Linked DNA regions of Homo sapiens: regions 1 and 3 are each linked to region 2. The links are contacts of gene promoters, found by promoter capture Hi-C in blood cells and fetal thymus (Javierre and others, 2016). All regions are on one chromosome and are shown on one strand. The core of a region is centred on a gene start or on the middle of the fragment in contact, and the rest is flanking DNA. Distances in the headings are between cores, read along the strand shown. Region 1 holds the start of COG3 (component of oligomeric golgi complex 3). Region 2 holds the start of NUDT15 (nudix hydrolase 15). Region 3 holds the start of GTF2F2 (general transcription factor IIF subunit 2).

Region 1 (2,736 bases), core at 236-2,735, 2.6 Mb after region 2:
AAAGTTGGAGGACAGAAAAAGTTGAAGACTCTAAACTCAATCTGCATTTGGACACAATTCCAAATCGTATAAAAAGAATGCTTCAGGCCAGGCACGGTGGCTCACGACTGTAATCCCAGCATTTTCGGAGGCCGAGGCGGGCAGATCACTTGAGGTCAGGAGTTCGAGAACAGCCTGGACAACAGGGCGAAACCCCATCTCTACTAAAAATACAAAAAATTAGCCGGGTGTAGTGGCAGGCACCTGTGATCCCAGCTACTCGGGAGGCTGAGACAGGAGAATCGCTTGAACCCGGGAGGTGGAGGTTGCAGTGAGCCGAGGTCACGCCACTGCACTCCAGCCTGGGCGACAGAGCGAGAGAAAAGAATGCTTCCAACATCAAAAGTAACCATCACCACTGCTTATATAAAATAATCCTCCTAAACCTGGCCCTCAAAACTGGAAAACGTTTGTCAAACATCTGACAATTCATGTTACTTCCTGCTATTACAACTAATTGAATTGAATCACACAAGAAGCAGTAGTGCATAATATCCTAATGGTAAGTGGATTAAACACATTGACTCTAACACCGAAAACCAGCACTGCTTAATAATGTACTGAGCCAACTTTCAAATAAAATTCATTTTTATTGCTTTGCAATAGGTGAAATAAATCTGATCTCCCATAACTTGCACTTGATTGAGAGCTCATAGTTCAATGTGCGATAAATGAAACTCACTCAGGACCAAGTTTTGGTCTCCCCAAGACCCCCATGGACAAAGCAACCTAGGTGAATCATTAAGGCGGTAAACGAGCACGCGCTGGAGACTGTCCTGCAGCACAGCACCTCGGGTTGACTGCCTCTCCTTCTGGGAGAGAGTGGGCAGCAGGATTACGCCTCGGCTGACAGGACGCCTCGTCTGGGGCAAAACGTTCGGTGCAAGGCTCCGGGCCAACCGTCCCATGCTGCTGGGGGAGGACTGGGTTCCGGCGAGCACCAGCTGCAGGACACCCCCACAGCCGTCCCCAGGCAGAATTAGAGTCGGGGTCGCAGGCAGAGCGAAGCCTGACAGCCTGGGAGATGAGGCCCCTCCCACCGGATCCGCCACCATGGCCAGGGAGGAGTGGAGAGATATCCTGGGCAGAGGCTAGTGAGGCCGGGGTCCTGCCGGGGCGCCCGAGGAGAATCCCAGCCCCATCGCCCCGGCCCGGTTCCTGCCCATCACCTCACCTCAGCTGGCACCGGCAAGTTCTCTGCCGCCGCCTTCAGCTCCAATACCGAGTCCGTCTGCCTGTCGGTCAGCGGCGCCGTCGTGTCCGGTCTCCGATCCCAGAGAGCCAGCTTTTCCCTAGCGTCCCGCTCCGCCGCCGCCTCAGGCAGCAGCAACAGCGCCGCCTCCGCCATCGCCGCCGCCCTCGCGGCCTTCAGCAGCAGCGAGATGGAGGGGACCCCGACAGAGAGACCTGGGCCACTTCCGGGAGAACCGGAGCTTCCAACACTGCACCGGCGGCGGGGCGGGACGGAATGCCCTGACCCCGGAAACGGTTCCGCAGTGTGGGGGGCGGGACCGAGGCCAGTACCGACGTGGCTTTAAATGGGTACGACTATTTCCGGTTGAAACGTAGAAGGTGGAGAAGACAGGACCCAATGGAAATAGAAATGCCCCTACCGGAAGTCTTTTCCTCAACATCAATAACTTTATTGTTACGTGTTGTACAGATTATTGACAACTGCGCTAAATCACCCTGCCGGCAGGAGACTTGGATCTACACCTCTCTGCTTACAGCTGGGTAGTCTGGGTAGAATGTGTGGAGTGTATGATTTCCATGTTGGCATGTTGACAATTTATGCCTCTTGGATCAAAACCAAAAGCATAAACTTTTCCAACATCCAGTAATTCCCCTACTAGAAAACTAATTTACGGAAACACATAAAAAATTCAAAGATGTGTGTATCTCAGACATCATTAATGGTATCAAATAACTGGAGACAACCTAAATGTCCAACATTGAAGAACTGGATCAAGAATTTGTGGCACAGACCAGGCGCGGGGGCTCAGGCCTGTAATCTCAGCACTTTGGGAGACCGAGGTGGGCGTATCACCTGAGGTCAGGAGTTTGAGACCAGACTGGCCAACATGGTTGAACCCCGTCTCTACTAAAAGCACAAAAATTAGCCAGGCGTGGTGGCACATGCCAGTAATCAGCCTGAGAGGCTGAGGCAGGAGAATCTCCTGAACCTGGAAGGTGGACGTTGCAGTGAGCAGAGATCTTGCCACTGCATTCCGGCCTGGGCATCAAGTGAGACTGTCTCAAAATGTATAATAATAATAATTTGTGGTACAGACATGTAATTCTACTCTACCATTTAAATCATATTGTAGATTTGAGCAACAAAATAAATAATGATAGTATTGGATCATAATTTACAGAATAAAATAAATACCCATGAGTCCATACTGCTATAAATAAACGATTGAATAAATAAATGGTGGAGAACAGACAATCTTCTACAAGTTATGGAGGCCTCTTCCTGCTCCTCCCTGGAGTCAAGGCAGGTGGAAACAGCTTCGTAGCAATTTTGACCATTGTCTGGGTAAAGTCTGAAGGCTTTATTCAGGCTTTATAGCACAAATCAGTGCCTGGCTATGTTCCCAAATGAAGGCTCTGATCTTTTAAGAGCAGAATTTGAGACCGGGCGCAGTGGCTCACACCTGTAATCCCAGCACTCTGGGAAGCCGAGGTGGGCGGATT
Region 2 (2,700 bases), core at 46-2,545:
ATCAGTCACCTGAATGGCTTGCTCTCTCTCCTCCTCCAACACACTGGAGAAAGAAGGAAACTCAGAGACAGCCAGGTGAGAAGAGGAGGAGGATACAGAAAAGCAGAACAATGGCTCACACCTCCTTTATGCACTGCAGGGGAGGGATTAGAAACTGGAAGTGACACTGAAGGTTTAAATTGGATTGGACTTTTAAATGCTTGGAAGTGAATCATACTGACCCAAATGTGATTTATTTTTATAACCAAGTGACAAGAAAACTATAGAATTTGCAGGAAACGTCACTGAAGAGGGAAAGAAAAAATCATGTTTGAAGGCAGTGGAAGGAGAAAATAAAACCATTTCCTGTTTGTTCTCCCATCAAATTTAGCCCACTGAGTATGCCAGTTATGTAAAGATCAAATGAAAGTATACATGCAAAGAGCTTGGCATATTATCCAGCCTTTAACAAAAAGCCCATTAGAGCTCAATGTTGGCTATGGTCATTGACCTCACGGGTGGATCACCTGAGGTCAGGAGTTCGAGACCAGCCTGGCCAACATGGCGAAACCCCGTCTCTACTAAAAATACAAAAATTAGCACGGCGTGGTAGCGGGCGCCTGTAATCCCAGCTACCAGGAGGCTGAGACACAAAAATCGCTTGAACCCAGGAGGCGGAGGTTGCAGTGACTGGAGATAGCACCACTGCACTCTGGCCTGGGCTACAGAGCGAGACACAGTCTCAAATCAATCAATCGATCAATCAATCAATCACATGGAAACGGTGCAATGTCTTAGCTGACAATATCGGGCTGCTGGAGGTTTACACACACCTGCTTTCCTCCTTTTGTGTGTAAGCTGTGAGAAACACACCTCACAGACGAACTCCCAACCACCACCCAGCAGGGGCGCAGCCGGAAAGACCCAGCTAGCAAAGACCTCGCCTGACCCAGCACAGCGCCCCCTCCTGGGCGCGATCCTACGTCGCCCAGAAGTCGAGGGGAGGAACCGAGGGAACGCGCAAGAAAGGACGCAGCGTCAGCGCGGACGTTCTCACGCACGGCACACGGAAGCAAGCACGGCGTGAGTTCGTCCCTCTGCGCACGCCCCGGTTTCCTCGCGTCCGCGGCTGCTCACCCGAACTCCAGATGACCTCCAGGGAGTTGGAAACTGCCAGCTCCAACCGAGCCTTTCCTCTTCCCCAGGAGGACGCAACGCGGATGCTTGCAGCTGGTCACCACGACTCCGACTCCGACTCCTGGCCGCCGCCCGCGCGGCTGTGCGCTGGCCGTCATAGCGCGCGGGAGGACGCGCCTGGCAGCGGCAGGAAGTGACGCGCTCACTACCCCGTCCCGCGGCCGCAGCCAATCTCTCCCCGCGAGGGCGGAGGCGCCGAAATCAAAGCGAGAGCGCCTCGGCCTCTCCAGCTGTCCGCGGTGCGTAATGCGTCGCGGAGGGCTATCAGGTTGGGGAATGCCGTGTTTCCTTCCGAAGGGCAGCGTGCCTTAGAGTTTCGCTGTAACTAAAGTCGCTTACAGTTGTGCTTTGAATATTCATCACCCGTCAGCCTATCCACTCCCAGATTCCTGCAAACCATGCATTTACATGTACAAGCCGCCTGCTCTTACCAACCTCGGCACCACTGCACATTCTTTTTTCCGTGAATGACCTCGCCCACCATGGTGCACCCATTTGCCCTGTAGCTCAAATCAGCGTGGTACCAGGATAAGGATAGGTCGTTTAGAAACATCCCATTATAAACAACTATGCTTAAGGTATATTCATAAGTCATGGGAGGAAATAAAGGCTAATTGATAAATCATGCTGGGAAGAGTTAGTTACAAACAGTGGAAAACAGACATTTTCAGATGTTTGCACACCATGCACCATGCAAAATACAAACCAGCTGAATCATAAAAACAAATGACTAGTTACTGGGAGGGTTTTCTCTCTTTCTCATTATTTTTACTTCTACCAAAGTAATGTGCACATACTGGTAATTTTATTTTATTTTAATTTTCACCAAGCTAGCTAATTTTCTTTCTTTTTTTTTTTTTTGTGGAGGTGGGCTGTCGGTCTTTTGTCGAGGCTGATCTCCAACTCCTGTCCTCAAGCAGTCCTTCCACTTGGGCCTACCAGAGTGCTGGGATAACAGGCGTGAACCACTGCGCCTGACCTATAGCTATAATTTTAAGAAGTAAAATGGTGCAAAAACCGCAACAAGAGCAACCTGACCCTCCTACTTTCAGAAACAATCACTTTTAACTCTTTGAACTGTATTTCTGATATTTGCCTACTTATTTCTAAGTAATATGCTTACTCTCCATGTTATACTAAATGGGTATTAAGCTTTTCACAGCATCTCTCCTCACTATCAACATTCACATTCATTACAAAGGTACTTACAATATCTTCTCAAAAAATGGTAGTATATAAAAAGGATAATATATTGAACAATGAGATTAATCCCAGAAATACTAGGTTGGCTTAATATTTGAAAAGCCAATGTAATTCAGCATATTAACAGAGGGAGAAAGGAAATACATATAATCATCTCAATAGATGCAGAAAAAAATTAATAAAATCCGATACTCAGTTGTGATTAAAAAAACTCCACAAAATCTCTGAGCAAACTAGAAATAAAATGAAACTTTAACATGATATATGGCATCTACAAAGACCTACAGCTAACATCATATTTAATGACTGTTTTGAGCTGAA
Region 3 (2,700 bases), core at 121-2,620, 2.9 Mb after region 2:
TGCTGGAGAGAGAAATGCCTATTTAATCCATCCTTTTAAGTCACACTGAGTTTGGAAATAAGTCAAATGAGTGCCACAGACTAAGGCGAGGGCTGAAGAATGAGAGGTCATGCATTTATTCATCATCTATTTGTTGAGTAATTACCATGCGCCAAACACTATTCTGGGTATGACAGGCAAAGATCCTGTTCTCATGGAATGTGATTCTGTGTGTTGGAAAGACAGAGGTAACCAACTTTGAACATATGAACACAAAATCACTCTACACTGTGAAAAGTGCTTTGAAGAATGTAATACACATCTGTCGTGTTAGCAAATGATCACAAGGGGGCTGTTTTAGGAAGGCCGACAAGAAAGACCTCTTAGATTTAATTGACGAGAACTCAGCCATGTGATAAAACAGTTAAAGCATTAAGAAACCAAAAGTCCTTACATTTTAAGTTTCAACGACTTTCAGGATCACATTTTGAATATGCTTAAGTATTATGAAACTCCCCTAGGAGAAAACACTCCCCAATATGAAACAATAAAGCACAAATAGTGCTTACTGTGAGCTAACCAAAATTGCTGTCTTCACATAAAACGTTTATTGACGGCCAGTTTCACGAGACCCAAATGTGCTCTAAAAGAATACTCCAGTCCAATGACCTCTCCTTCTGTGAGTTTGGGGCTCTCTCGCCTCTTTTGAGAGCTTCATTAAGGACCATCAACCTAAGAGAACACTTTTAAGAGTAGGCAGGGACCAGTCCTACTTTCTGGCCGAGAAAACTGTACAGAAAGTAGACATTCAACTACCTCACGCAGGCTCATGGCTAAAACCAGTTTCACCAAGGGAAGATACAAGGAATTCTTCAGTCTGGGATAAAATGCACCGTCCAAATCTGGGGACACCAAGACAAGATTCCAGGAAAGCCGTGAGAAAGAGATCTAGTCCAGGCAGATTCAGAGTAGTAACTGGCTGAAAGACACTTTGCGTCCCTAAACTAATTCCTCGTCTGCAAACAGATACAACAATGACTCCTGCCTCTCAAAATGTGTGAAGCTCTAACGAGATAGCCGTAAAAGAACTTTAAGAGGCGCACGGAGCGGGATAGGCTCAAGTTACTTAAACTATACTTGTGTTAGGAGGAGCGCAAGTGGGAGACTCGCGAACATTACCTTGACTAGCCACACTCCTGTGTTCTGTTTGGCGCCGGTCAAGTCGAGTTCCCCGCGCTCGGCCATGGGTCTGCAGCCGGTGGAGGCGTGCGGGATGCAGCAGCGACCCCAGGAGCCGCAGGGCTGAGGAGCGGGCGTCCGGAACAAAGGACAAGCCGCGCTGAGAGGCGAAGAGCCGGCGTTCCTTACCTGCCAGAACACTGGGAACCGAGGAAAAGAGGAACACGCCGCCAGGAGCCGGGACTGCGCCTGCGCACTGCTACGTCAGTACGGCGCGCTGTTGCAGACAAACTTTCTGTTTCGGAAATTTCTTGAGTGGGCGTGGCTGTCCGCGATGTCTGCATCTGAGGGATTAAAACGTAGGGTGGGATGAGCTAAAACGTTAGCAATGTATTTAAAGACATGGTCAGCATAACTGAAGAAAAAGATTATCAGAACGGAAAAATGGGGTTCAAAGAGACGAAAGGTGTCAGAACATGTCCAACCCTAGCCAAGGAGAGAGAGACAATATTTGAAGGACAGGGTCAGGGTAGTAAATTGGCGTCCCTGGCCAACGTCATTAGCACAAATGGGCACTGGGATCAAACTTAGTAGCCTTGGGTATATTGAAAACATGCCGTTTCTAGACCTGGAAAAAAAAAAGCCGTGTTTCAGCTCAGAGGCTACCCGAGCTGTTCTGATGAAGCAAGCGGAGCACCTCAGTTTCCAAAACCCGGAAGTCTGTAACGAAACGAACAAGTAAGAGACAAACCTGATCGTTTCCTCCCCTGCTTAAACAGTTTTCTCTTTCTCTTATTGCCTCTAGAATAAAGTTCAATCCTCCTGCTTCAACTGGGCCCTCTCAATTTCATCTCTTTGCACCTCCCACCATCACTCCGCCATGCACCAAACCACATCAAACCCAGCAGACTTCCCTAAACACGTCAGAATCTTCGTCGGTCATTTCAGAGCCTCTGCACACTGGATTCCCTTCCCTTGGAAGCCCTATTTTACCCCTGCCCTCACTCTCACCCCTGTGCTCTGGTTGGCAAACTCCTACTTATGGTTCAAGACCAATGAAAATGTCACTTCCTATGAGATCTTTTATCAACTTCCCCAGAAGAAATTAGTTTTTCTTCACATCACAGTGTGATACTTAGCACTCTGAACTATAATATATATGTTTACATATCTGCCTTTGCTTTCCAGACAATGAACTCCTCCTAGGCGGAAAGAGCTTTATTGAGGTATAATTGACAAATAAAAAATAGTGCTTTATTCATTTTATATCCACAATGTCTAGCACAGTGTTTAACACATTGTCAGGTTTCAGTAGGCTTTGGGTGAAAGAACATTCGCTGAAGAGAAACAAACAGTAAGGTATTGTTAAGAATGGCAAGTAATTTATTGAATCACACATCAGAGCCTTGCACAAAATTGAGGAAATTTTATGTGTGTTCAGCATAGGGCCAGGAAAAGCTGTCAGAACTCTGCTTTTAGCTAGGAAAACTAATAGGAAAGATGGGAGAGACCAGGAGTGTGTTGAAGATGAAAGTTTCAGGC

Evidence for each region. The method cuts DNA at HindIII sites, captures the fragments that hold promoters and counts their contacts. A CHiCAGO score of 5 or more calls a contact.
Region 1: the fragment with the promoter of COG3 here is called in contact with the fragment with the promoter of NUDT15 in region 2 in 6 of 17 cell types (total B cells, monocytes, activated CD4 T cells and 3 more); the score reaches 12.1 in total B cells.
Region 3: a contact is called between the fragment with the promoter of GTF2F2 here and the fragment with the promoter of NUDT15 in region 2, in 2 of 17 cell types (total B cells and non-activated CD4 T cells). The highest score is 6.2, in total B cells.

Annotation. Positions count from the first base shown.
Region 1 is chr13:45,463,688-45,466,423 of GRCh38, reverse strand. COG3 (component of oligomeric golgi complex 3) reads right to left here and starts at 1,485. Exons shown (of 23, transcript NM_031431.4): 1 at 1,214-1,485. The coding sequence starts at 1,387. The HindIII fragment of the contact is 5,472 bases long and covers 1-2,736 here.
Region 2 is chr13:48,036,321-48,039,020 of GRCh38, reverse strand. NUDT15 (nudix hydrolase 15) reads right to left here and starts at 1,295. Exons shown (of 3, transcript NM_018283.4): 1 at 1,117-1,295. The coding sequence starts at 1,274. It overlaps LOC124903172 (a long non-coding RNA gene), which reads left to right and starts at 1,029. Exons shown (of 2, transcript XR_007063788.1): 1 at 1,029-1,415. RefSeq lists enhancers at 799-958, 1,009-1,248, 415-1,290, 1,291-2,167. The HindIII fragment of the contact is 6,950 bases long and covers 1-2,330 here.
Region 3 is chr13:45,119,180-45,121,879 of GRCh38, reverse strand. GTF2F2 (general transcription factor IIF subunit 2) reads right to left here and starts at 1,370. Exons shown (of 8, transcript NM_004128.3): 1 at 1,159-1,370. The coding sequence starts at 1,224. RefSeq lists enhancers at 455-1,096, 1,207-1,336, 1,097-1,740. The HindIII fragment of the contact is 3,497 bases long and covers 1-2,700 here.